Linked DNA regions of Homo sapiens: all the other regions are linked to region 1. Evidence: promoter capture Hi-C in 16 types of primary human blood cells and fetal thymus (Javierre and others, 2016). All regions are on one chromosome and are shown on one strand. The core of a region is centred on a gene start or on the middle of the fragment in contact, and the rest is flanking DNA. Distances in the headings are between cores, read along the strand shown.

Evidence for each region. The method cuts DNA at HindIII sites, captures the fragments that hold promoters and counts their contacts. A CHiCAGO score of 5 or more calls a contact.
Region 2: a contact is called between a fragment that was not itself captured here and the fragment with the promoter of DPH5 in region 1, in 1 of 17 cell types (total B cells). The highest score is 5.2, in total B cells.
Region 3: a fragment that was not itself captured here is called in contact with the fragment with the promoter of DPH5 in region 1 in 2 of 17 cell types (total B cells and naive B cells); the score reaches 12.3 in total B cells.
Region 4: a contact is called between a fragment that was not itself captured here and the fragment with the promoter of DPH5 in region 1, in 7 of 17 cell types (activated CD4 T cells, naive CD8 T cells, total B cells and 4 more). The highest score is 9.6, in activated CD4 T cells.
Region 5: a contact is called between a fragment that was not itself captured here and the fragment with the promoter of DPH5 in region 1, in 3 of 17 cell types (activated CD4 T cells, total CD8 T cells and non-activated CD4 T cells). The highest score is 7.9, in activated CD4 T cells.
Region 6: a contact is called between a fragment that was not itself captured here and the fragment with the promoter of DPH5 in region 1, in 1 of 17 cell types (non-activated CD4 T cells). The highest score is 7.4, in non-activated CD4 T cells.

What each region holds. Positions count from the first base shown.
Region 1 is chr1:101,023,338-101,027,912 of GRCh38, reverse strand. It overlaps DPH5 (diphthamide biosynthesis 5), which reads left to right and starts at 2,129. Exons shown (of 8, transcript NM_015958.3): 1 at 2,129-2,230; 2 at 2,447-2,604. The coding sequence starts at 2,470. DPH5-DT (DPH5 divergent transcript) reads right to left here and starts at 2,067. Exons shown (of 5, transcript NR_109849.1): 1 at 1,852-2,067. RefSeq lists a silencer at 347-406 and enhancers at 2,198-2,307, 1,400-2,599. The HindIII fragment of the contact is 3,765 bases long and covers 1-2,995 here.
Region 2 is chr1:101,451,031-101,455,605 of GRCh38, reverse strand. No RefSeq gene overlaps it. Among named protein-coding and RNA genes, the nearest start is that of LINC01307, 130 kb to the right of the region's middle. RefSeq lists enhancers at 1,573-2,772, 3,142-3,191. The HindIII fragment of the contact is 466 bases long and covers 1,786-2,251 here.
Region 3 is chr1:101,406,361-101,410,935 of GRCh38, reverse strand. No RefSeq gene overlaps it. Among named protein-coding and RNA genes, the nearest start is that of LINC01307, 85 kb to the right of the region's middle. RefSeq lists enhancers at 186-265, 566-615, 636-685. The HindIII fragment of the contact is 1,000 bases long and covers 1,666-2,665 here.
Region 4 is chr1:101,365,118-101,369,692 of GRCh38, reverse strand. All of the region lies in intron 4 of LINC01307 (long intergenic non-protein coding RNA 1307), which reads right to left. Among named protein-coding and RNA genes, the nearest start is that of LINC01307, 44 kb to the right of the region's middle. The HindIII fragment of the contact is 740 bases long and covers 1,614-2,353 here.
Region 5 is chr1:101,347,543-101,352,117 of GRCh38, reverse strand. LINC01307 (long intergenic non-protein coding RNA 1307) reads right to left here. Exons shown (of 5, transcript NR_126402.1): 4 at 1,933-2,071. Among named protein-coding and RNA genes, the nearest start is that of LINC01307, 26 kb to the right of the region's middle. The HindIII fragment of the contact is 6,334 bases long and covers 1-4,575 here.
Region 6 is chr1:101,313,513-101,318,087 of GRCh38, reverse strand. No RefSeq gene overlaps it. Among named protein-coding and RNA genes, the nearest start is that of LINC01307, 8.0 kb to the left of the region's middle. The HindIII fragment of the contact is 2,184 bases long and covers 694-2,877 here.

The DNA.
Region 1 (4,575 bases), core at 880-3,379:
ACAAAGCAGCATGTTGTGGGCAGAGAACTACAAGCAATTCAGTATTGCTGGAGAGAAAGCGAGAAAGCTCATGGTATGGAGTGGAGAGAGATGATGCTAAAAAGGTAGGCAGTGGCCACACCACGAATGATCTTGTGGGGTATGTTAACAAACCTGGACTTTCTCTTGGCCTCAGAAGGATCTAGAAGGGGTGTAATATTTTCAGATTGTTAACTATAACTCTCTGACCCCCTTGAGTGAAGGAGACATTATTATCAGCTACAAGAGTGACAAAATGAGGACCTGAGAATCAAGATGGTGATAGACGGTATGGTTTCTATTGAGATATACAGGCAGACATGACAGACGATGTGGGGGTGACTCCCAAGTGTCTGGCTGGGGTTAATCTGTTGATGACAATACTCTCCTCACCCACCCCCACCCCCGACCCATCCAAGTAGATAATATGGAAAGAAAAGCAAAATGGAAAGGGAAGGTGATGGATTCAACCTTGGATGTGTTGAATATGCTTCCGGGTTATCTAGGTGAAGATTTCCAGCAGAACGTTAACATGAAGCCAAGAGGGAGGAAGTCTGGATAGGAGGCTGAAATTTGAATCTACAAAATATTAGCGATACTAGGAATTCTGAGTGAACAGCCAGTTTTTGTGAGGTTTTGTTTGTTTTACTTAAGCCATTCTAATAGGTGGGTTGTGGTAGCTCATTGTGATTTAAATGTTTATTTTCCTAATGTCTAATGATGTTTAGGATCTTTTTTTGTTTGTTTAAGATCTTTTAAAATAATTATTTGCTATTTGTGTATCTTCTTTGGTGTCTATTCAAATCTTTTGCCCATTTTTAAACAACGAACTGTTTTATTATTGCTTTCTGAGTGCTCCTTATATATTCTCCATACAAGTCCTTCATCAGATACATGCTTTGTAAATATTTTCAGTATGTGGCTTCAAGTCTTTTGAAGAGCATAAATTTTTACTTTGTTGAAGTCCAATTTATCAATTTTTTTCATCACGCTTTTGGTTTAAGAAATATTTGCCTAAATAAGGTCACGAATATTTCCTCCTATGTTTTCTTCTGGTATAGGTTTAGGTTTTCCATTTACATCTACGATCCATTTTGAGTTTTTTGGGGTGTGTATGTGGTGTGAGGAATAGATCAACGTAATGAGAGGGGATAAAACACAGCCACGAAGAGTTTATAGATAGGAAGTGCAAAAAGGTGGATGGAACCTGGGAATGAAAAAAAGCCAAGGTTCAAGGAAGCGGAGTTGGGCATTGTCGGGGAGGCAACAGGAAAATTCTGAGTAACCAACACTGCCTGCTAAGAAAAGCAATGACAGCTGTCTTTTTTAACTTGGATGAGGTCACCTTGGGAAGAGCATTTTCAGTCAAAACAAATCTTCCCTATTTCTAATTACATGTAACCAACAGCTTTATAAGAATTCCCCCGGCAGAAACACTTGAGAGGTCTGAAATCCCTGAGCACTATTAAAGGTCACTTCTTTAGGTACAGGAAGGTCTGGGATTCCTGACACTGAGGGTGACTGAAACATCCTTGGGGCACTCCAGGCATAAGGTCTTGGGGACAAACCCAAGGAGTCATTGCCTTGTTGGGAAATCAGAAGCACACTCACTGCTGGGTTTGCCAATCTCACGCTTCACCAGGAAGACACCTAGTTGAACTACAGGAGGATGAGAAGACTGGAATTAAAATCTGTGCACTCGGCCAAATCCGGGGACAAATCAGGAAAATCCTTCCCAGCCCTCCCTGTTTCTGGAGAGGAGGAGTAGGGCGCAGGGCCCCTCCCGACTCTCTTCCACGTGGCTCCTCTCGAGCGAAGAGCTACTGCACTTACCCAGGCTTAGGAAGCGGGTGTTTAAGCCATGGGTTAGAGGGCTCGTGAGCACGCCCGATCCTTTCCCTGAGGCTATGAAACGGTGGCTCCACGGACTCCTCTCGGCCGACTGACCTTTCGCCGCCCTGCCCCAGCAGCCGGCGGGTTTCTTCAGTGGAGCCGGGCTCTGGTCTCCGCAGCCCAGTAGCCCGCTAGCCCGGCCCCCTCCCGCTAGTCGTAAAGTGCAGTAAAGGCACCAGCATTTTGCGGCACCGTAGGTGAGGCCGGCGGCGTGGGCCTTTTCTCTGCACGGAGCCGGCGCTTTTGCAGTTGCTTCTGCGGAAAGGTGGTAGTTAAGAATTTGTAAAGGCCAGAGAACTACCTACGATTCTCTCAGCGGGTAATTGGCTGCTCCTAGGTTTGTGTAACAAGAGGCAAAACTGGTAGGGTTGTTTAAAACCTCTTATCCCAGTTCTTAAGCGTGACATAAGGTTCCCAAACCCCTCCTTGTGACTTGCCTCTTCTCTTGTGCTACTTTGGTTGTCATCGTGTTCATCACTAGATTTTAGATGTCCTCGGTGTTACTGACGGTTTTTCTGTCCACTTCGTCTTGCAGTCTCTCTTCTCCTCAAGTTTGAAATGCTTTATCTCATCGGGTTGGGCCTGGGAGATGCCAAGGACATCACAGTCAAGGGCCTGGAAGTTGTTAGACGCTGCAGTCGAGTGTATCTGGAAGCCTACACCTCAGTCCTAACTGTAGGGAAGGAAGCCTTGGTAGGTGCTGAGCGTTCCCCAGCCTCCTGGGAAGAAAGCTATCTAACATCTGATTTTCATACACTAAGCTGAACAGAATTTTCAGGTCTGCTTGTTTAAACCCTTTGAAACGCATCCCTTGTTCATTAATGATCTGAGGAGCAGAAGAATGGAAATTTTACACCAACCAAGTGACTTGGAAAATGAAAGGGTGCTTTGTCCTATTTTACAAGTCTAATTTTGTGGCTTTCTCCAGTAAATAGGAAAGCTATTTTATACTCCTGGGGGATAGTTATCAAAACCCCTTATTTCATGAGGTAGTCAAGAAACCCTTTCTGAGTTGAGTGCTAATGAGGAGCTGACACAGCCTTAATGAGTTGGTTATATATATTCAAAAACCAAGCTGAAAGCTTCCCCCTTTGAAGTGTGTCCATAGGGAATGGCGATTGCCTTTTTGTATCCTATCCAGAGAGATCTTATCTTAAATAGACTATCTCCCAATAAGGCTTATACTGATACACTTGTATATATTGAGTGAGCCTGGACTTAATATATAAAAATGTATGAGTATACACTTACATGAGTATACACTAAGTAACCAAAGTATTTGTTAGTATATTATACATTTATAGTTGGCCCTCATAAGGGCCCAGTAAATTTGGGGGAAGGGTCAACTTCAGGTTCATTGTCAAACTCTAAGTAGAATGTAAATCAAAGGATTAATACATATGTTATGGGAGGAGGGAGCAGATTTATTGTCATGTCTTCCAAACAAAAAATAGACTTAAAATTTTTAGGCCTCAGATTACTTTAAAATCTTATAGAAGGAATTAAGAACTGCTACTTGAATTGGCCATGCATTTAAATAAAAGTTGTGTGTAAAGACCAACTTTGATATATACATATATGTGGAGAGAGAGAGAAAATAAGTCTTGCTCTGTTGCCCAGGCTGGGGTGCAATGGTATGATCATGGCTCACTGCAGCCTCAGCCTCCTGGGCTCAAGTATCCTCCCACCTCAACCTCTCGAGTAGCTGAGACTACAGGTGGGTGCCATCATGCCCAGCTAATTTTTTGTATTTTTTGTAGAGACAGGGTTTTGCCACATTGCCCAGGCTGGTCACAAGTTCCTGGACTCTAGTGATCTGCCCACCTCGGCCTCCTAAAGTGCTGGGATTGTATAGGCACAAGCAACCACACCCAGCCTAAGGCCAGCTTTGATTTAAAAAACATTTTTTTTTCTCATTTTTTCACTCTTAGGATAGAACCAAAATATCTAAGCTCGAAATGATGGAAATGTGCGTCTCTAATCAGTGATTAAGGAAAAGTAAAAGGAACTTAACACCTTCAAGAAAAGACAGACAAATAACAAAACAGCAGTTTGATAGAATGAGATATCAGGGGATGGCATAGAGGAAAGTTTGGTTATAGTTTTATCTTTGTTACATGTTAATGTGACCTTGGACAAGTCCTTTAACTTTAGTGTCTTTTTTAAATGGGGTAAAAAACATCTACTTTAGGTGTTCAGCATAATTCTTAGCATAGGTTCTTAACTATGGTATATGGCACAAAACTGTTCAGAAATAGAAATTGTCAATGTTCACATTTCCAAACTTCTCTGAACCTCAGTTTCTTCATTTGTCAAGTGGCAATTACCAGTTGGAGGGTTATGTAGTGTTTTATTGAGATGATGTATATGAAAGTGCTTTGTAAATTTTCAGTGCTAGCTAAATGTTAATTTTGGCTGCTGTTATTTTGTAAAGTATTTTTTTCCAAAGACAAAACTTCTGGAGTTACTACTTACAGAGTCAAGACCTGAAGCTGGACCCAGCCTTACCTACAGTAAATTATGTGTACTTTGTTAAGGTGCTGGAATATCTGTTTCTTCACAGTAATAAGTACTGACATTTATAGAACAGTTACAGAACAGTTACTGTGCACTGTTTTAAATGCTTTACATGTAGATTAGGATTATTATTCTAATTACTGTTCA
Region 2 (4,575 bases), core at 769-3,268, 430 kb before region 1:
TCCACATCTCATAGATCCCTTTGTCCCCCACAGCTGGCACATAATAGGTTTTCAATTCATGTTTGCTAAAGTAATGAATTGGGCATTAGCTAAGTCCTGCAGGGCAATCTCCGGGGGCAAAATGGAAATTGAAAGGACAAGTAAATGAGTGCGTGTGTTATTATGTTACAGTCCTGCTACCTTAGGCCAACCTTAAAAACTTTTGAAAAAGAGAAGAAACTGTATCTGCCACCAGGGGACTCAGCTGTACACCTGTTTTGTTTTGTTCTGCCCTGGCAGGTGTGCAGCTGGGAGCATGAAGCTGTCCGAATTCCTGACACAGAAGGCATCTGAAGGGTTAATGGGTCAAGAACTATAGATGACATAAAATATCCTGCTGGAGATCAGCTGTTGGGAGGTTCTCCTTATAGGAATCGTCTTTAGGAGGAGCAGATGAAGTTTTAGAACAAAGAAGCTTCTTGGAATTATTTTCTCTCCCTCTTTGAGGGATAAAGTGGTCTGTGCTAACTTACTTCTTAACTGAGAAGGGATTCGATTCTTGGATTTTCCTCAACCTCTCAATGAGTGGGAATAGAGATCCTGAAATGTAGTTCATGCCTAATTTAAATATATAAATGATACCAAAATCACATTCCCAGCTAGGAATATTGCAGCCAGGGTAAAAGAGTTGCAGCCATAATCCCACTTTACATGCATTTGAAACTTTCTTGTCCTCAAAACACTTCCTCGGCCAGGTGTGGTGGCTCATGCCTCTAATCCCAGCACTTTGGGAGGCTGAGGGGGGCGGATCACTTGAGGTTAAGAGTCCAAGACCAGCCTGGCCAACATGGTGAAACCCCATCTCTACTAAAAATACAAAATTAACTGGGCATGGTGGGGTAGGCCTGTAATCCCAGCCACTCGGGAGGCTGAGGCAGGAGAATAGCTTGAACCCCAGAGGAGGAAGTTGCAGTGAGCTGAGATCACGCCACTTCACTCCAGCCTGGTCAACAGAGACATTGTCTCAAAAAATAAAAATAATAAAAACACTTCCTCATCCATTATTCAGCTTTAACTCACAACCTCCTCTGACATACTGTTTTACATAAAAGCAAATGGAGACCCAGAGATAGTGAGTTGTTCTCCATCAGACATTCAGCAAATGAGAGCTGAAACTAGAATCTGCATGTTCTTTCTCTTAGTCCAGCGGCACTGTGCAAGGGAGGAAATAAATCAGAAATTATGTGATACCGAGGAAAGGCAATAGAATGCTTCTTGAAAGATGAGGACTTTGAGGTGAGCTTGAGGGAAAGAATATTCACAAATGTCAGAGGAATAAAGCTTGGGTATGCAAGAAATATAACATCACTATCACCAAGACGGAATTTCTATTTTTAGCCCCCATCCCACCAGGTGGCATATACGATTCAATTACAGTTTTCTCCTCCTTTTTCCAAGATTGGTTTAATATAGGGAAGGGGAAGCCTACAGGATGTCAAGGCTGTGGGCTGGGGCAGGAAGTGGGTAGAAAGTTGTTCTCATCTCTCCACACTAGCATCTGCTGAGATGCCTTCTTTCCTGTGACTTCAGGAAGAACACCCCTACATATTCTCTGTTTCTCTTCCCTCCCACCTTCTTCTCTCATTTTGTGTGTCTCCTGAGGACATAGAAAACCTTTGGCTGCTTCCTACATGGTGCAAAAGAACTCAACAAGCCACCATCTCTCCTACTTCTACACTAAGCCTGCAGTACAAGACTGTAAACATGATTAACTTTCCATCTCACCCAGGAAGTAAGGCACAAGCTTTCTCTGCTGTGATCCCCAAACCCATATGGGGATACGTCATTATTCCTTCATCAAGATTCAGCCCCAAGAGGCTGGGAGGAGTGTCGGACCTGTCTCAGAGACACATCGGCAATGTCCTGTGATTCTCTCCTGATTTGTTTTCTCTCTCTCATCCCATAGAATCTTTACCTATCTGAATATCAGAAAACTGCCTCTGATGCACAGCATATTCTTCCAAATCTATCACTTAGGGCCTAAATTCTGCCCACTGCAGGGCTAAGGTCTCTAGCACCCAAGTCCAAATTTTCACAATTCACAAACCAAGAACTTCACTCTTATTCTCAGAGCTGTGCTCTAAAGATCCTCTCTGGAGCTGATGAATGACCTTGAGTAAATGAAAGGAAGTCAAGAGTTCAAGGTAATGTAAAGGGAGATAGAGGCACACATGACAAATCAGTCAATATATTTATTGGACTATATTAAGCTTATAGTTAGATACTGTGTTCTGCAGGATCTCAAGAAATAGTTACGGGAGCTTCCTGGGAGCTGAACACGTGGAGGTTCCTGGGGGGTGGCACGCCCAGGGAGGGCACAAAAGCTCTTTGCCCTGTTAGCACTAGGGAATGTATCTGAGTCACACGGCACCAAAGTATGTTACCAGCAGTGAATCCTTATGGGTCAGCAGCGACCTCAATTCTTGCCTCCTCAGAAGAAAGAATTTGACGGAGGAGCGGAAGGCAGAGTGAGAGACCCAGGCAAGTTTTACAACAGAAGTGAAAGTTTATTAAAAAGCTTTAGCACAGGAATGAAAGGAAGTAAAGTACATTTGGAAGAGGGCCAAGCAGTCTAGTTGAGAGATAAGCGCGCGGTTTGACCTCTGACCTGGGGTTTTATACATTGGCATGCTTCCGAGGTCTGCATCTCTTCTCCCGGGATTCTTCTCTTGAGGTGGGCTGTCCGCATTCATAGCCTGCCAGCACTTGGGAGGGGCCGCGTGCTCTGTGTTTACTGTTTAGAGTTGAGCACATGTTCCCTTACCAGTCAAATGTCCTAGAAGGTCATTTACCAGTTAAACCCCACCATTTTGCCTCTTAGTACACAGGCTTGAGCTCACTCACCCAACTCCTGATATCTTACCGAGAAGCTGCTAATCACCAATTTCAGATGTTTCTATCTATTGGGAGACTGCCTTTTCCTGGCACTGGCTGTGGCCAATTATGATTTTAGAGAGACAGTTTAGCAACTGCCTGACCATCACATGGTGGTCGCCTGACAGTCCTACTGGAGCGGAAGGGGACCTCTCTTGCCCAGCTTATGTCTGAGTAGCTGCCTACTGTAACAGCCTCTTACCCCATACCTCACCTTACGTGTCTCTTCATATGTATCCTTTGCAATATCCTTTATAATAAACCAAGTAACATAAGTAAGTGTCTCCCTGAGTTCTGTGAGCTGCTTCAACAAATTAATTGAATCAAAAAGGGGGGTCATGAGGACCCCAATTTGAAGACAGTCAGTCAGAAATTCCAGAAGCCCAGATTTGTGACTAGTGTGTGTGTTGGGGGCGTGCTGTCTTGGGGAACCCTTAACCTGTGGGATCCGACACTATCTCAGGGTAGATAGCAACAGAACTGAAAGATAGTATCAGAACTGAATTAGAATACTGGTATCAACTGATATTCACTGCTTGGCGTGTGGGGGAAATACCCACACACATTTAGTCACAGAAGTCTTCTTCTGTGTTGATGATTGTTGTGGCATGAGAGTGAAACCACCTTTGCAAAAATTATAACTCAGTGAATTATTACAGTGAAAGAGATCTGACCTAACCGACTCCATCTTGCTTCTAACCTCCAAGCTGTCCTTGTTCATCCCTGGCCGTAGGCCAAACTAACTCCGGGAGGGAATTAGTTTATAGTTTAATTTTGAAACAAAGATAATAACAATCATTTCCCAAAACAAAACCCCTTCCTGCCTGGGAACTAGACTGCCTTTACGGGACTTACAAATTAGCCACACAATTAGAAGTTATGGTTAGGGGTCACACAGCCGGAAGCTGCAAAATTCTCAACCTCCCCAAATTATTCCTGGAGATAACATCACTATTGTAAAACCTAACATCACCAGTGCTTGAGATATTTTGCCGACACTGCACTCAATGGATCAGCTGACACCACCCAGATCAATAAACTGTCTCATCTGGCCTTGTGGCCCCCACCCAGGAACTGACTCAGCACAAGATGACAGCTTCAGCTCCTTATGATTTCATCTCTGACCCAACCAATCAGCACTTCCAACTCGCTGATCTCCTACCCACCAAATTATCCCCAAGTCTCTGGGAGGCTGATTTCAGTAATAATAAAACTCTGGTCTCCCGTACAGCCAGGTCTGCATGAATTAAACTCTTTCTCTATTGCAATTCCCCTGTCTTGATAAATCAGCTCTGTCTAGGCAGCAAGTAAGGGGAACTCATTGGGCAGTTACAAAAGTAGAGAAAAACATGGTTGGAGATAGTTTTTCCCTAAACAATTGGTGTCAGAGAAGTGGGATTTGCTGGAAAGGCCCTTGTTCACGGAAACATGTGGCTTGAGAAAAGAAAGGACAAAAGGGTGGAAGGTGAGGAATTTTTTTTTAATATACTTTAAGTTCCAGGATACATGTGCACAAAGTGCAGGTTTGATATGTAGGTATACATGTGCCATGTTGGTTTGCTGCACCCATCAACTCGCATTTACATTCGATATTTCTCCTATTGCTATGCCTCCCCTACTCCCAACCCCACAACAGGCCCCGGTGTGTGATGTTCCCTGCCC
Region 3 (4,575 bases), core at 916-3,415, 380 kb before region 1:
TCTCACTCTTGCTGTGGCCCCCTCTACAGCACCAAGTTTGTTTCCAGGCAGTGGGTGAACAGGGCTGATAACTTGCTCCAGGCTACCAATCTCCAGCTGTAAAAGCAAGCAGGGCTTTCAGGTTTCATGGCTCCCCACCTGCCACAGCTTCTGTGCTGTGTCTGCACTCCAGATTCACCCCTCCCTCAAGTTCCATCCAGGAAACTTTGTGTTCAGTTGAAGTTGTTACACAGTTCAGCTAAAAGTTTCCTCCCTGTGGTCTTTTCCCAGTTCCTCTGGCAGCACTCCCCAAGGACCTCTGTGAGACAAAGTCAGAAATGGTTTCCCTGGGGACCAAGAGAGCCACAGGGCTCTTCTAGCTGCTTCTTCTACCCTTGTATTTTGCTCAGCTTTCTAGAATTGTCTCAACCCCGGGTAAAGTCAAATCCTTCTCTTGTGATCTGAACCTTCAGGTTCCCCAGTGAGAGTGTGTGTTTGGGGGTGGATGATCCCCCTTTCACACTTTCACACTTTGGCTGTCTCTCGGGGCCTGCAAGAGTGATTCACTTCCTTCAGAGGGTCTGTGAATTCTCTCAGATTTCCTGGTATGTTCCTGTGATAGATGTGGGAGCAAAAGTTCACGATGTGAGTCTCCACATGCTGCTCTCTGTCTGAATGGGAGCTGCAGTTTAGTCCTGCCTCATATCTGCCATTTTCCCCAACCTGTCTCCATTCCTGTTTTTAGCAATAGGAAGACTCACAGAGATACAGCAGCCTAGACTTCAACCAGCTTGTCATCTCCAATCAATTATTTGTGGATACATTGAGCACTGTGCTGACAGGCTCAGCTTTAATGTCATGATCTGTGAGTAATGTCTGCCATGACTTTGATTATATATTTTCCACATACCTATCATAAGTGTAAAGGGCTGTAAACCCAGACATTAATAATTATATAATTACTTTAGCCTGTTATTGTTTGTATCAGCAAAAACAAGGTAATAACTGTCCAATAATTGGGGGTAGGTTAGATAAGTTATATGTAATGTAGCAATATTTGACTATTAAAATATAATCTATACATTTATCAGATGATTGAAAAGATGTTTATGATTATTATGTGAAAAAATGAGTTTCAAGTTGTATAAAATATGATCACATTTTTCAAATGGATTGTTGAGATAGGATGTATGTTGAGACACTATTTACATATGTAAATATAAAGCAGGTCAGAGCTCAGAGCTCTTCCTCATCTCTTTATTTTCTTTTCTACTGCTTCCTAGGAATTTTGTGTTTTGTTTTTTCTTATATTGTTATTGTTGTTGTTACAGTTATTATTTCATTCTGTTTTGTTTTGTTTGTGCCTTTTTAAGGTAGGAAAAAAGAGAGAGAGAATCTGTTAGACTAGTAAAGTATTACATTTTTGCTATAAAAGGCATCAATATAATCAAAGGGTTTTTTGCCTGTAAATGTTTAATTCTGATTTTTACAAAACATCCCTTCTAAATAAAGCACAGAATGAAAGGCCCTGACACCACCTTTTCAAGAGTGGAAACCAATAAACTAGCAGAGAGAAAAAATGGTAAAAAGGGAGCCCAGAGGGAGCCCATCTGAGGCAAACCTGGATGAACTGACACATAACTCAGAGGAGAAAGTAAAGGACTGTTCTGTATCATCTTCCAAGCTTGGTACATCTTGAACATCTAGTAGTAAAGTTTTCTCAATGTACTTAGCCTTAATATCCTTCAAGATGTCACTAGCATAACTAAAGGATATGTGTGCTTATGGGTGTGTTTTCAGAAAGAAAGTCAGAAATAATGTCTACCAAAGTGTTAACAGTAATTATCCAAGAGTAGTGATATTATGCATAGTTCTTACATTATTTTTGCTTATTTATATTTTCTAACTTTTTTCTACAATAAACACAGAGAGTTTTAAATGAGATTTTTAAAATTATAGCTATGATTTTAAAAGAGAGAAAGAAAAATCATACAAAGGAGATTTCAGAAAAGAAGATTCCCATATTCTCCCATGTTTTCTTCTTCATGGCAGGTAATAGAACATGTTCTTACTTCTGGAAACTGCAAAGCTGGAAGGGATCTTAGAGGTGATATGGTTCCTCCTTCTCATTTTATACATGAAGGAACTCAGGTCTAAGATGCTTAGTATTGCTCCCACTCAAGGTTCACAGCAGCAGAACAAAAAGTAATTTACATTTGTTGATTCTTAATTTAATACTTTTATAATGTGGCAGAAAAAACAGCATCATAAAAGTTTAAGATTCTACAGTGTCTCCAGTTAATTCTATCCAAAAATAAAAAATTAAAATAGGAGGTTTGTTGGCCAATAACAAAAGAATGGAGGCAGCAAAGCTGGAAATATATGCCCAATCAACTTGGAGACATTGTCTTAAATTTATCGCCAATCTTCTGGGATATATTGAATGGATATACAGCTATAAGCTGCCCTCTTTAAACTAAACACTGCACTATATTCTTGCCCTTTATAACAACTTCCTCAGTGAAACCTGCCCTGTGATTATATCCTCCTCATCTGTCCCAAGAGAATAAGGCAAAAATATTATTAAAACCTTAGCTTTTTTCAGTGTCATCTCTTAAATATATCTGTTTCTGACTCATAGGCAGTATTTTCCTTTTATCTATTTCTTACTCATATGAATGAAGCTTTAAAGAAAATTTTACACTGATGCATGCCTCCAACTTGCCTCAGGTAAAATGAATGAGACAACATCTACACAGCACTTTGAGCTCCCCAGACAGGGACATCAGAAATGAGCAGTAGCCTTGCTCTTGTCAAAGATATCAACTGAGCCTGGCAAGACTCCAAACCATAGAATAACTTTCCTGACCCCTCATCTGTATCTCTCAACTAGATACAGAATTGAAAATAGGAACCAGTCATTTGGGGTAAAACATATGCCAAAATAGTTCTGCAGCGTGGGTAAGAAAAAGGGTGAGATGTGCAAAGGGGAAGCTCTCTGAAAGCAGAGAATATAATTAAGTCAACTTTCAAATTCAAATGTACTTCTTCCTTTCCCACATGTTCTAAATCAGACCTCTTTCCCATAGGGCTGCAGATGGTGCCTCTAGGGCTGGCTGTCACTGATCTCTGAAGGGTAAAACTGAACTGAAACCTACAAGCTTCACACCTGTGGGGTCAGCTTCATTAACAACTTTGACCTTTGCTCGTTTTTAAGAGCTGCCCCAACAAATATCACTGCAAACAAGGTGCACCCTGACTCTTTGGTGATATATCACCTTCTCTTTTCACCTTGACCCTTTGGTCATATATCACCTGACCCTTTGGTGATACATTACCTTCTTGGCAATCTAATTTTAAGTCTCACTTCATGTTAATCCAGGACAGGGATCTTAAGTCAGTCTTGAACTCTCTTTGTAAAACCTAAGGGAGGTTTAACTACTAATTTACTGCTTGGACCTCAATTAACATCTGTTTTTAAAAATCACTTAACATTGCCACAAAATAATAGTTCTATGCTTCTCTGACAGATTTCATCACCTCAGTTTTCCAACTTTTGACCCAACTACAGTTAAAGCATGAAAAAGACACATTGGTAAGGCCAGCTAGTGGTCACGTCACACATAAATTACCACTTTCTACTGTAGGAACTGTCTCCATCTGTAGGAAAAACCTGGAGAATCCTGTAAATAGCAGAAATATTATAACAAATCTTTGGTGAATGGAGGAAAGTGGTGGAATTAAAGGTAGAACTATCAGAAATTACTTAAAAAAAAAAAAGGACTTGTGAGGCTTGTCCACAATACTTATCCCCATTTTACACAATAAAAAACCTAGACACAAAGAGGTTAACTTGCCCAACTTATACAACTAAATTATAAAGATTCCTATAAATATATTCTCAATATGTGAAGCACATTATACACTTTATTGAAGCATTTAGTATTTAGTGATTATCATTCTAACAATGTAGGAGAATATACTTTAAGAAATACGGAGCAAAATCATTCATTTTGAGCAAGGCCTTGGGTTGGCAGTGAATCAAGATGACAGCTTTACTATTTAAGAACAGCTCTTTGAATTGTAGAAATAGTCCTTAATCACAGGACAAACTTGGCTCCATGGTGGAAAAGATTGTTTTGTTTTAATTCCAAATATCTATTAAGTACCTACTGCTAGTCCCCAGTACTGTGCTGATATGCCACAGATGTGCCCATCCCTTCTTTTTGCAAAATTTTGAAAATCTAATAAGGGTAGAGAAATAACCAACTTTTATGTTTTATTCTGCATTACAATTCAATGCAGAATCAAAAGATTTCCAAATAGAGCTACAAGCGAGCAGCATTTGGAACCCCAAGGAAGGAGCATGATGACCCAGGAAAATGTCAAGAATTGGATGTTGAACATTAGCCTTTCAGCCACAATCACAGACAGGAGCACTGTCTTCCAAAATAAAGAATAAGGTATGATTACAGGACTAAGCTGAACATAAAATTGGCCTCTAGATGGTCCTGGTGAGGTGAAAATGGCTAAAGGAACTTCATCAAGATTACCTGGAGAAAGTGGCCAGAGATACATTAAGGAGCAATACGGTTT
Region 4 (4,575 bases), core at 734-3,233, 340 kb before region 1:
ATGCAGATGCCAAGCAGCCACAAACTCAAAACTCTTCAATACATTTTCATTGCCTGCAGCATAAAGTCCAAGCCTTTTAACTTGTCATAATTGTAGGGTGAGGATGCCTCCCAGTTTTCCTGAGAGGGTCCTAGTTTTCCATTTTTGCCCTAGGATAATTATTAGTGAGACTGCTTTCACTCTCAAAAGTGTCTTGGCTGGGTGCGGTGGCTCACGCCTGTAATCCCAGCACTTTGGGAGGCCAAGGCCAAGGCGGGAGGATCACTTGAGGCCAGGAGTTCAGGACCAGCCTGGCCAACATGGCAAAACCGCATCTCTATATTAAAAATACAAAAAAAAAAAAAAATAGCCAGGCGTGGTGGCACAGGCCTATAGTCCCAGCTACTCAGGAGGCTGAGGCAGGAGAATTGCTTGAACCCGGGAGGCGGAGGTTGCAGTGAGCCAAGGTCACGCCACTGCACTGTAGCCTGAGTGACAGAGTAAGACTCTGTCTCAAAATAAAAAGCATCTGGGTTTAGAAAAATGGTACAGTCACCCTACCTTTAACACTCTTCATGATAAGGCACCTGCCTACCTTTCCAGCCTCACTCTTCATTATTCCCTGATTCAATTTTATCCACTAGCATAACAAAAATGCTTATGGTTCCTTACATTCAACGTGTTGTTTTTACTTCCAAGTCTTTGCTCACATTTGCTCTCTGTCTGGAGTTTCCTTTACATTACGTCCATCCCATTCTTTAATATCCAAGTCTTTCTTGCATTAAATGGGTTGTCGAGCTATATGCCCCTCCCCACTCATGATCTTCTGTCCACACATATATGGATCCTTGTGCTCATCAAGTTACATTGTGATCATCTATTTAGAAGCCTAGATGCTCCCTTACACTGTAAGTTGCTTGTGAGGAGGTACGACTTACTTATCTTTGATCTATCAGGACCTAGCACAGTGTCCGACACATGGAAGGTGGAGCTCCCCAAAATAACTCATGAATGAATGAACCGTACAAATTTGAAATAAGAGATGAATTGGGGAAAGACCAGAGTACGGTAGTAAGTGGAAAGAAGAAAGAGTCAAGAAAAATTATAAATGAGAGTGGCTTGAGTGGTCAGCACAGGAATTTGCTTCAAAGGTGGCTAGTAGTCCATATCCCAGGCCCCAGTCATTCCAAAAATCAAGGTCAGTGCTCAAAGGGGTTTGCTGATGGGTGGGATGGAGCAGGGTAGAAGAATACTGTACCCAGCTGATTTGTTAGATTTTAGCGCAAGACTCAGCCAAGATATGAGAGTACAGTAGACAGGTCCAGACCCTCGGGAGCTAGGCAGAATGTTGGCCTCTGCGGGGGAACTATGGTGCAATCCAGAGACAGGCCACATGCATAGGAGGATAAAAGAACCCCAAGGCCTGGGAGACTCACTCGTACCCCAGTTACTCCAAAGATAACAAGCTGCCTAGAGCAAGACTACTTCATGATGTTCCAGCTGCCATGATCAAGTCTGACTTCAGGCCCTGACCAGATGAAACTTCAGGTTAAAAAGCCACAACACTCACCATCTAGCAGGCTGGCAAAGGCAGAGACTGTCATCTGCAATTAATGACAACTGGGAGCAAAGCTTTAGATAAACAAGATCTATTTGGAGGGGGCGGGAGCATCTATATGCTTACCCTCTGAAGAATCCAACGCATACATTTTGGTCTATTAAACTACGTGTTTATCTTCCTTCAAGGCAAAAAGGAACATCTGTCACTGAGCCCTTGTACTTAATTTCCATTTTGAACACTGGGCTTCATCAGACACCACAGTCAAATCACAGAAAGCAGAAAGCTCACAGGGCAGGGCGGCAAGAAAAGGCCCACAGAATTGCTTTTCAAAGTTCTTAATGGGCTAGCACGTGTCCCCAGTGTATGTCCTCTGTCCTGCATTTCGTTATCTGAGCTGTGCTCCATTGTTGTTCATTTTGCTCTCTGTTTGGGCTTCTCTGGGAGCAAAATAGCACTTTTCTCTCTCACTTCTAGCATTGGTGCTTCTTGGTGAGGAGGGAACAGAGACTGAAATGGTTAGGAGACTGCAAAAGAAACATGAGAAACTTCTGTTGATTGCTAGCTGAGCATCATGATAGGTTTTAATGTCACACCGTGCACTAGTCTCAGCTCTCCCATTTGCTAGCTGCATGTTTCTTAATGAGCTTCATCCCAGAGCCTTTATGTAACTGACTTTGCATTGACAGTTCTTAACACATGGTAAACACGCAGTAACTATTAGCTGTTATATGAACTTGTACCCGAAGTGTACTGGGTAGTATTGGCCTCTAAGACATATAACTAGTGGGAGAACAATCCTTCCTCTACAAAGCTTTGGACTGCATGCACCTAGTTCTGTATCATCAATACTTTTTAAAATCAAACTCCAAAACCCAGACTCTAATACTTCCAGAGTCTGGAATGATAACCAGAGAACCATAATTTCATCAGTAACTTTGCTTTAAGCCCCTGACATTTTAATAAACTTTCTGTTTCCCAGGATGTTTCTTTATTATTTTAGAAGCCCAACAGAAGGAAAGTAGCACCTCTAAGTACCTCCCTAACTTTCAAAGCTCCCCTGTGAGAAAAATCATAAACTCTTATTCAAAAGAGATGGTGTCTGGTTGGGCAGAACCAAGCTGTCTCACTGGCAAAATTCCATCTGCCTTGAATCATTTTCCTTTTTGGCCTGGAAAATTACAGATGATTAACTTGTCCTCTAATAAATACCAGGAAGGCTTTCCTACAGAAAAATGTAAACAGTTAATTTTGAACTATATTATAATTATTACAATCACCCTCATGCAAAATACAGAAATGCAGGCCATGAGCCTCAATTTCTCCACTCTAACTGAAAATGGACCAGTTTGAAGACAGTCAGACTGCAATAAGCACTTGTAGCCTGGCATATTTGGCTTCTCTCTCTGAGGCCTGCCTTCCTGCCCAGGCCACCATCTCTGACTCTCCTGTCTAGGACAGCCTAGACTCCTGGTCATTACATGTTTCTGCTACATATGATTCACCAGCACCTTTATGAAATCAGGGTGCTCTCCTGGGTTAGGACTCTAGAGTTTGCCAAAGATTCTATCTAGTTCTCTGGTCCCTAGTTTCTGACTTTTTTATAAAAAAATGTATTATAGAAAAAAAATCTAATTACACAAAAATAGAGAACAAAGTATAATGAGTCCCTGTTTATCCGTCACACAGCTTTCACAGTTATTATCATCTTGCTGATCTAGTCTACCTCCACCTTTTCTATTTCGCTTGAAAATGCTAAAGAAAATTCCAGACTTTGTATAATTTCACTTCAATAGGTAGCTTCAGTTTTTGAACATACACAATTTGAAATATCTACCCTAGTTATGAGACGATAGGATCTTTCCATTGATGCTTTTTTGTTCAAAGTGATAAATACCACTGCTTTAATAGGCCATTATTCCATCCTGACCTTTTAAAGGTCAAATGATTCTCTGTGTTCCTGGTCATCGCATACTAACTCAAACATGTTAAACAAACATTAATCTTCAAAAAAAATCACAGAAAGAGAACCCTCCCATCTGACCTACATGACATGCCCCTTGGGAAATTACTAAGCATATTTCAAACTATGTAGAAGGCCCAGGAATTTAAGGCTACAGTGACCCATGATCACGCCACTGCACTCCAGCCTGAGCCACAGAGTGAAACTCTATCTTAAAAAAAAAAAAAAAAAAAAAAAAGGATTAAAAGTCTTTACCTACCAAGAAGTCAGATCTCCCCATTCCTCAGTGATGCACCATTAGTCCAACTTATTCCATTTATTAATACCGGGTACTTGGTAAATGACAAAGCATAAGTCAATCACTAGAGAATTAAAAATACATCTTGAGACTAAAATATCAATGTATCCACTTTCAGGGTCATGTCTTACATAAGCAGAATAACCCAAGCAGATTTGGCCACTTAAAAACTCAATTCCAATCAGGCAGGACCCACAGGAAGCAGCATTTGCTATGTCCTAATGTTCTTATTAACCCACGTAAAGGTAGAGTTTTAAACTTCAGAAAGCACTCAGTCACTTGATATTTATTTTTTTAAAATCAGTAGTGGAGACTAAATTGTTTCTTTCTTTAACCATTTGTTTTTTATTCCCAGCACAGTAGGAGGTAAGTGTAGTTCCAAGGAGAATGGGGCAAAACCCAGAGGCCAGCCCTCAAACTCAAGAAACACAGCACAAAGCTGTCTTTCCAAAGCTATGTGGTTCCGAGCCCAGGCTTATGGTATCCAGCTTTTCCACTGTGGTTTTGAAACGCTGGCATCTCCTTCTAGGTCCTCCATGAGCTCACACTCAGAACTAAGAGTTATGTTTGTCTTAGTAAATTCCTATTTTCTGACACTAACATTCTTGTTATGGCTCTTCCATCCTGGCATCCCCTCCAAGCTCCGTCTGCAGGACATCCTCCCTTTTCTAATGTCACCTTGTGTCCTGTCTCCTGTCTCCCATGGAGTAGACATCCTTTCAGCTTCCTTATCCCCCTCTGGACCCAAACAAACGGACTTCCCAAATGTTGAGGGAC
Region 5 (4,575 bases), core at 782-3,281, 320 kb before region 1:
CATCTCAGAAAAAGGAAAGAAAGAAAGATAGAAAGATAAGAAAGAAGAAAGAAAGAAAGAAAGAAAGAAAGAAAGAAAGAAAGAAAGAAAGAAAGAAAGAAAGAAAGAAAGAAAAAGAAAGAAAAGCAAATGAGGTGACTTCTGATAAATCACTTAGCACAGAGCAGAGACAGGATGCCAGGAGCAAGGGATAAGTGGGGACAGAGGGAGAGTTGAAAGAGAGGCAAACCAGGCAATAGACTCCTCCACTTGGGGCCACAGGAAGTGCCTGTTAGGAAAGAAGGGAGGAAAGACAGAAAACCATCTGTGTCTCTTGTCAAGTGATCTTCATGAGTGGATGCTCACACTGCCATCCAACACCCACACTGAAATAAAGTGAGAGGCAGAGAGATGGCATCTTGTGTTCCCACCTTCCTACTAGAAAGAACACACACATACAGAATTACCCAGAAGGCTCAGAGAGCTTTGTCCTCAGAGATACCAGTAATAAGATACTACATGTGGGGGAATTATAAAGTTGGGCAATGGTCACTAGATAAATGAATAAACAAAATGTATTATATACATACAATGAAATATTATTCTGCCTTAAAAAGGAAGTAAGTTTTTTGATACATTTTACAACGTGGAGGAACTTTGAAGACATGCTGAGTGAAATATGCCAAACACAAAAGGACAAATATTGTATGGTTCCATTTACATGAGGTAGCTAGAATAGGCAAATTAAAAGAGACAGAAATAAAATTGGACATTACCAGGGGCTAGATGGAAAATAGGGGAATTACTGCTTAATGGTTATAGAGTTTCTGTTTCAGTTGATGAAAAAGTTTTGGACATAGTGCTGATGATTGCATAACATTGTAAAGGTAATTAGTCCCACTGAACTGTACACTTAAAAATGATTAGAATGAAAAATATTATTTTATATATGTTTAACATGATAAAAATTATTTTAGGCAAGGCAAAGTGCTCATGCATGTAATCCCAGCACTTTGGGAGGCCTGGGTGGGCAGATCACGAGGTCAGGAGTTCAAAGCCAACCTGGCAACATGGTGAAACCTCGACTCTACTAAAAATACAAAAATTATGCAGGCGTGGTGGCGGGCACCTGTAATCCCAGCTACTCAGGAGGCTGAAGCAAAAGAATCACTTGAACCCAGAAGGCAGAAGTTGCAGTGAGCCGAGATTGCACCATTGCACTCCAGCCTGGGCGACAGAGCAAGACTCTGTCTCAAAAAAAGTATATATATGCATATTATATCTATAATATATAATATATTCTATATATAGAATATATAATATATAATATATTATATATAATATTTCATATAATGTATATAATTTGTATATATTTATATAATATATAATATATATAATTTATATATGTTATACTTATATATATTATACATAAATATATATATATTTTTAAGTTGAACACTGGATGTTGAGCCTCTAATTAACTAGTTTATCTCACTGCAGCATGAAAGAGCAAATGTATCAATAGCCAGACTTCCAGGAAGTCCCTGATAGGCATTGGGTAGGCCAGCTCAGAGAACTTCTTTCTCTATATACACTACCCTTTCTCCTTTCATCTGGTTCCATGGCCTTTTAAACTTTCTGTTTCTTCTCAGAATTCTCTAGTGTCCTTCAGTTCCAAAGCTGCTATGTTTTTCCTTGACATAACTTCTAAGCCCACTCTTGCAAAGGCATTTAGCCTCTGGCATGGCTTATGAAAATACAATCAATCTCACCTACCACCATTTCCAGTGCTTCATAGTAGGATGAAGGTGTCCCAAGGTAGAGTAGTGATTACAGTTTCTCCCTAAATAGCTTAAAAATTATTATAACACATAGCCTTTCCCATACTGCAAAAAATTAACTGTCCTGGAAAAATGAACTTTCATTGGTTTTTCTTACACAATCATGGCTTACCTGATAGCATCATTCTTACATGATTTTGCTGGTATTTATCCTTGTCTTGACCTTCAGTTATGTTGTAATGATCTCTTTCATCACCTGCACTGACAGGAACCATTTCTCTTGTTTAACTCTTGAATGATTCACGTGGGAGCTGGGGAGTGAGATGGCGGAAAGAATGGGAAGGGCAAACGTTATATATATGCTTCCAAAATAAAATAAAAGGATACAAGATGAAAGTAAAAATACATGGGTTAATAATGGAGAAGAAATGAGATACTTTTTACGGTGAGTTGAGATGGTGGTAGAAAGATTGGCTGAAGATAAATAGAAATCTCAATGTGGAAAAGAAGTCAACAAGATCAGGTAGCATGGTCTCAATCATCTGTTAAGCCAGACACTCTGGATATCACTGTTCAGCAAACTATGAATCCAAATTTTTCCATCTTGCCAGCAAAAAGAATCATTTGTCCTTTATTAACATTAATTAAGCATTTATATGGAGTTTGTTTTGTTTTGTTTTGTTTTACAGTCAAGGTCTCCCTCTGTCACTCAGGCTGGAGTACAGTGGCTTGATCTCAGTTCACTGCAGTGTTGAGCTCCTGGGCTCAAGTGATCCTCCTGCTTCAGCCCCCTGAGGCTGAAGACTACAGGCTTCAAGCTGGGACTATAGGCACACATCAGCACACCTACCTAGAGACGGAGTCATACTATGTTGCCCAGGCTGGTCTTGAACTCTTGGCTTCAAGTGAGTCTCCCGCCTTGGCCTCCCAAAGAGCTGGGACTACAGAAATGAGCCACTACACTTGGCCTAATTGAGCATTTATATGTAACACGCTAGTAAGGTGGAAAGAGAAAAAATACATTTGGCAAAGTCTGGCTCCTGAAGATCTCAATGGCTAGAAAAGGGGGGAAGAGTAAAGAAATAACTTCTATGCTATCTAATAAGTGCAATAATAAAGATATATATATAAGCTGTTATATGAACATAAGAAAGGGAATACCTAGCTCTCCCTGAAGGTGTCAGAAAAGGCTTTACACAGAGGTGACACTGGCTTTGCATTGAAGTATGAGGAGGAATTTGCTAGGTAGAAAAGGAGTTCAGAACATAGTAAACAGAAAAAAGAATGTTAATAAGGGCAAATAATTGAAAGTTTAGTGTGTCAAAACAAGACTAGCAAAATGATTAGGGAAGCAAAATCAGAGGTTTATGCAATGCTCCGTAAGGCAATTGTTTTGCTAGGAAAGCCAGAAACAGACTATGAAAGATTTGCAGGTTAAACTAGGATGCTGGGATAAATTCGTGAATGGACATCAAAGAGCCAACAAAGTTCTAAGTATAATCAGCTCTATTTTTAGATAAATCTGGTAGCAACATGGAGTGTGATTCAGAGTGTTGAGAGAAAGGTGAGACATTATCACAGCAGTATAGGAGAAGTGAGGAGCAAAGCACCAAGGGTAACTAGGAGGATAGCATCTTAGAAGACTGGAAGTTTGACTTAAAAAGCACACACTAGCAGATTAGAGAAAAAAGAAAAAAAAAAAAAAACAAGACCCATCGGTCTACTGTCTTCAAGAGATCCATCTCACACTTACTGATAACCACAGGCTGAAAGTAAAGGATTCACTGTTGTTGGTTTAAAGTCTGTTTTATCTGATATAAGAATAGTGACCTCTGCTCTTTTTTGTTTTCCATTTAGGGTGGAGGTCACTGTTCTTATATCAGATAAAACAGACTTTAAACCACCAACAGAAAAAGCACAAAGAAGAACATTACATATTGATAAAGATTCAATTCAACAAGATTTAACTATCCTAAACGTATATGTACTAAACACTGAAGAACCCAAATTCATTTCAAAAAATGCTTGTAGATCTACAAAAAGACTTAGTCACACAATAATAGTGGGATACTTCAATACCCCACTGACATTAGAGAGCTCACTGAGCAAGAAAACTAACAAAGAAAATCTTCACTTAAACTCAACTCTTGACCAACTGGACCTAATACACGTCTACTGAATACTCCACCCATCAATCACAAATTATACATTCTTCTCATTGGCACACAGAACATACTCTAAGATAGACCACATGCTTAGCCATAAAACAAGTCCCAATAAATTCAAAAAAATTGAAAGCACACCAGCCATACTCTCAAATCACAGTGAAATAAAGACAGAAAATGATACCAAAATGATCTCTCAAAACCACACAATTACGTGGGAATTAAACAGCTTTCCCCTGAAAGACTTTTGGGTAAACAATTAAATCAAGGCAGAAAAAAATTATTTGAAATAAATGAAAACATAGACACAACATACTAAAATCTATGGGATGCAGCAAAAGCAGTGTTCAGAGGAAAGTTTATAGTGCTAAACACCCACCTCAAAAAGCTAGAAAGATCTCAAATCAACAATCTAACATCACACCTACAAGAACTACAAAAGCAAGAGCAAACTAACCCCAAAGCTAGAAGAAGAAAATAAATAACTAAAATCAGAGCAAAACTGAATGAAATTGGCACACAAAAATCCATACAAAAAAACAACAAAACTAAAATTTGGTTCCTTAAAAGGATAAACAGGATTGATAGAACACTAGCTATATTAACAAACAAATATAAGAGAGAAAATCCAACAAAACACAATCAGAAAT
Region 6 (4,575 bases), core at 536-3,035, 290 kb before region 1:
TTGGGGGTAGCATGCTCTGCACCCCATCACTGCTCTCGAAGCCCCCAAAAGCAATCAGCCTAGGTAGTTTAAAGCTGCTTGCTATATGATACAAAGCCTCAGAATATCAAAGCTAGAAGGACTCAGAGAGATTCTCTAAGTCAAGCCCCCTTATTTCTGGGTTCTCTCTGTCTCACGCAAACCTCTACATCACCTGCTAGGGTCAATAACTAGATGCAAGACTGTTCCCCACACTGCCCCCTTCTGGCCATCTGATCTTGAACCCAGGACTTGTTTTTTACCTAAATCTCTCTGTCTATAGTGTGATCTCTATACTTGCTGCGCAGACAGCTTACGCAATCTCTAAACACCTCCTTAGACTTCTGATACCCTAGCTCCCAAAATGTTCTTGAAACTTCTTTACCCATCTGGGGAAACTACAGAGTACAATTTCCAAGATATTTTGCCTACAAGAACCCTTACCTAACATTAAAAATTGTTGATACCCCTCCCCCATTATAGCAGATGTTTGTTTTGTATCTATTGACTGAAAAAATAATGGCCAGAAGCTTCTAGTAATTTAGCTACTTTTGAAAATACATTTGCAGCCAGGCGTGGTGGCTCACGCCTGTAATCCCAGCACATTGGGAGGCCGGGGTGGGCGGATCACTTGAGGTCAGGAGTTCGAGGCCAACCTGAGCAATATGGGAAGCTTTGTCTCTACTAAAAATACAAAATTAGCCAGGTGTGGTGATGCACGCTTGTAATCCCAGCTCCATGCCTGTAACCCCAGTTACTTGGGAGGCTGAGGCAGGAGGATTGCTTGAACCCAGGAGGTGGAGGTGGAGTGAGCCGAGATCCTGCCACTACACTCCAGTCTGGACTACAGAGTGAGACCTTATCTCAAAAAAAAAAAAAAAAAAAAAAAAAAGGAAAAAAAGTAAATACATTTGCACTTTGCTATTTGAAACAGTATCTAGTCACAGTTCAAAAATAAAATGACCAATCTGTGGGAGTCATTGTATTTATTCAGACTGTCGACATAGTGATTCTCTAATAGATTTGCCACACCTTGCACTGACGTTTATGCCCTTCCAAAGATATTCAGCCCTCTCACTGGGAACCACCAACCAGAAATATTTAACTTAATTAGGTAATTATTATCTTCAGAAAGTTAATTTTTCCTATAGATCCCTCATTCATTGAAATGGGATGTTAAATGCCACTGCTGTTACAGGAGCCACGCAATCTGACTTGTTTGACGTAAGGCACTGTAAATTACAAATATAGAAATTCTTTACTCACCTTGATAGTACAACTATATTCTGATAAAGAATTTAGAAAGCAATTGCTTAAAGGGCAGAACTCATGTTTTGTTGTTTGCTAGTTTTCCCTTCTGAAAAGCCTCATTAAGCACAAGAAGCTGAGCAGCAGTTTAGAAAAAAAAAAAAAAAGGGGGGGAAGCAAAACTGCCTTCCCAAATCCAAGAGTTCAAATGAGATTGCATACAAATTGCTGGGGTCTCTCTTCCTTCAGCCTAACAGCTATTATTCCTCCTTCTATGTGACTTGCATGGCAAACAATGGAAAGAACTCGGAGACAAAGAGCCACGACTGGTGAAGACAATAAAATCGCGGTATACATTGCTCGGGCAGTCTACCAGGCTAGTCACTGCCTCGCACATTTCTTCCACATGCTGCTGTCCATCATACAGGTGGCTTTTAAGAAGTGGGGGAAAAAAGCCATCAGTTGTCATAGAAACAGTAGCAATTTGTGCCACCTTTGTGCAAGCAGATAGGAGAGGCTTGCTGCTGCTGTTTGGCTATTGTCCAAGGACCCAGATTGAGAAACATCAACCGGCTTAAAAGGGAGCCCCTGAATTTCTGCCAAGCAAGCAAATCTGCACCCTTCAAGTGGGCTATCACATATTTGCTTAGGATTGAGGGTTAATTAAAATACAAGCCTCGATGTGGGAATGCTTTGAGAAAGACTCAACCCCCAATTCCCCTCTCCAAGGGCCACTGAAGCAACGGTAACCTTTTTACACCAGCGTCATCCTACGGGGAACAGCAGGGGTGACTCTGCTGTTAGAATTGTTAGAATATATAGCAGGTGTAACAACAACAGAGGTGTGGACCTCAGCCTGATGGGATCTGTTCTCATCAGGAGAAGCTATAATCATCTCTAAGAAATCATAATTAAATTGGTGATGAAGGCTAGCATTGGGAAAGGAACAGTTCCCAAGGGTGAGGCTGAACGGCCAAGGATCACGCTGATAGAGCCCAAGGCCGGGTGGCCATGGCTTTCTCTTAACTGATGGCCTCTTTGCGTCTGTTGCAGAATGGTTTCCCCATAAATCAGTAACCCCATCCTTCCACAGTAGGCTCTAAATGGCTGGCAATCCCTGGTGGCTCACCCAATACTGAACGCATCTGCCTGAGAGATGGGACAGAGTGGCCTTAACTATATTAACCTCATGTAAAAATTCAGGTCTGTTTGACTCATGGAGAAGAGATATGTTAGCAGACCTTCTGGGAGTCTCTCTCCTGCTCTTTATGCTTTGTCAGTACTGAAGGAAGCTGAGAGTATCCAAGGTTTGTACATACAGATCAGTGAGCCGGGAGTGGAGACTTAGCGGTTTGGTGTTAAAGCCATGGGTGACACGAGCTGGGCGGCCGGTCTGTCACCAGGCAGAAAGTCAAATCCAAATGAAGGGTAGAAGAAACTAGAGACCTGAGGGAGTGAGGTTGGGAATCACATGGAAACAGTAGGAGGCAGGGGGGCAGCCATTCGCAGGGCAAAGTTTCCAGAGGCTACAAAACAACACAACCTCACACCAGGCAAGTGGGTTGGTTTGAGGCTCGATTCTGAGCCATGGTCCAAATTCATTCAGAAGCTTTTCGCATGCTCCTGCTGGGACGAGAACAAATTGCACACCAGATCAGTCGGATTTGGCTTAGCCGCATGAGACAGAGAGTCAAAAAGAGCCCTATCTTCTTGAATTCTAGGTGTTTGGTAAGAAATAAAATATTAAAATAAGTTAAAAAGAGCCCTGACAAAAGCCAGAAATTGGCAGACCTGGGCTGCTATGGGAGTTTTGCCATAGTTGGGGACCCAGGCTCCTTTCAGCTTTCCTTTCCACTTTTAGGCTGAGGGCCTCAGCCTCAGGGTCCACAGTGGCTGTTATTTCCACAGCAGTCACAACCACATTCCAAACAGCAGGAAAGAGGGAAAAAGGCACACTCTTCCCTTTCTACAAAGGTTTGCCAGAAGTACCAGCCAACACTTCCGTGTAAAACTCACTGGCTGGAATCTAATTATATGGCCATACCTAGCTGCAAGGTGTATGGAAAACACAGTCTTTAGGCTGGATTCATTGCTACTTTGAATAAATTACTGCTGCTAAGTAAAAGAGGAAAGAGATATTTATAGGTAACTAAACGTCTCTGACAATCAAGGTATTTCTTCTAGCACTTCTGATGAGCCTCTGAGAATAGCTCAGTCATAGTCACACATTCTACAGCAAGAAGGTCTTTGCACAGTCCACAGAACAAAGCACCCTCTCCCTGAGCTGTGGAGGACAGTGCTGGAATCATGGATCCAATGGGAGGAAAGAAGTTTCAGAAAATCCCATCTATCAGAAGAGGCTCTGGAAGGTAAAGCCCCAGCAGTGAGTCATCACCACCCAGGGACTGAGTCAGTGTCAGAGCAGCTCCTGGCTTGAACCACTCTGGGTCATGCTAAAGGAGGGTCAAGCTTGGCTCCTTTAATAGCTGAGGAAACCAAGGTCATAATCATAACTTTACAAGCAATGGAATCCTTTCGCTGAATGAGTATTCACTCTCCGCAAACACTGTTCTAGGTGCTGTAGACTCAAACACTGAGAAGCATCCCTTCCTCTGAAGATGACTCCTGTATTGCAGGTGAAAGAATAGGTCAATTACAGGTTAAAAGATGGCGTGATAGTAGATGTTGCTTGTGTAGTATGGTAGAATCATCTAAATCATATAGGAAGCAAAAGAAGACTTCTCTTAAGCCGAAATCCTGCTGGGTTTTGAAAGACAAGTTGTTGAAATAACACATAAACAGGTATAAACATAAACCATGATATGTTCAAGGGGAATACTGGTGGTTCACTCTAGGTGGAACATGTGGTAAAAGTGGACAGCTAGAGATTCAATCTTGAAAAATGATAACAGCTAACAGCCTATGATGTGTCAAATTCTGTTCTAAGTGTTTTAGGTATATCAACTCATTTAATTCTCTTGACTACCTTAAGAGTAAATAGCACCATTTTATAGGTAAGGAAACTGAGTCCCAAGAGCAAGTTCACACAGCTAGTATATGACAGAACTCGGAGACAAAGAGCCACGACTGGTGAAGACAATAAAATCGCGGTATACGTTGCTTGGGCGTTCTACCAGGCTAGTCCCTGCCTAGCACATTTCTTCCACATGCTGCTGTCCACCATACAGGCGGCTTTTATGAAATGGGGGAAAAAAGCCATCAGTTGTCATAGAAACAATAGCAATTTGTGCCACCTGTGTGCAAGCAGATAGGAGAGGCTTGCTGCTGCTGTTTGGCTATTGTCCAAGG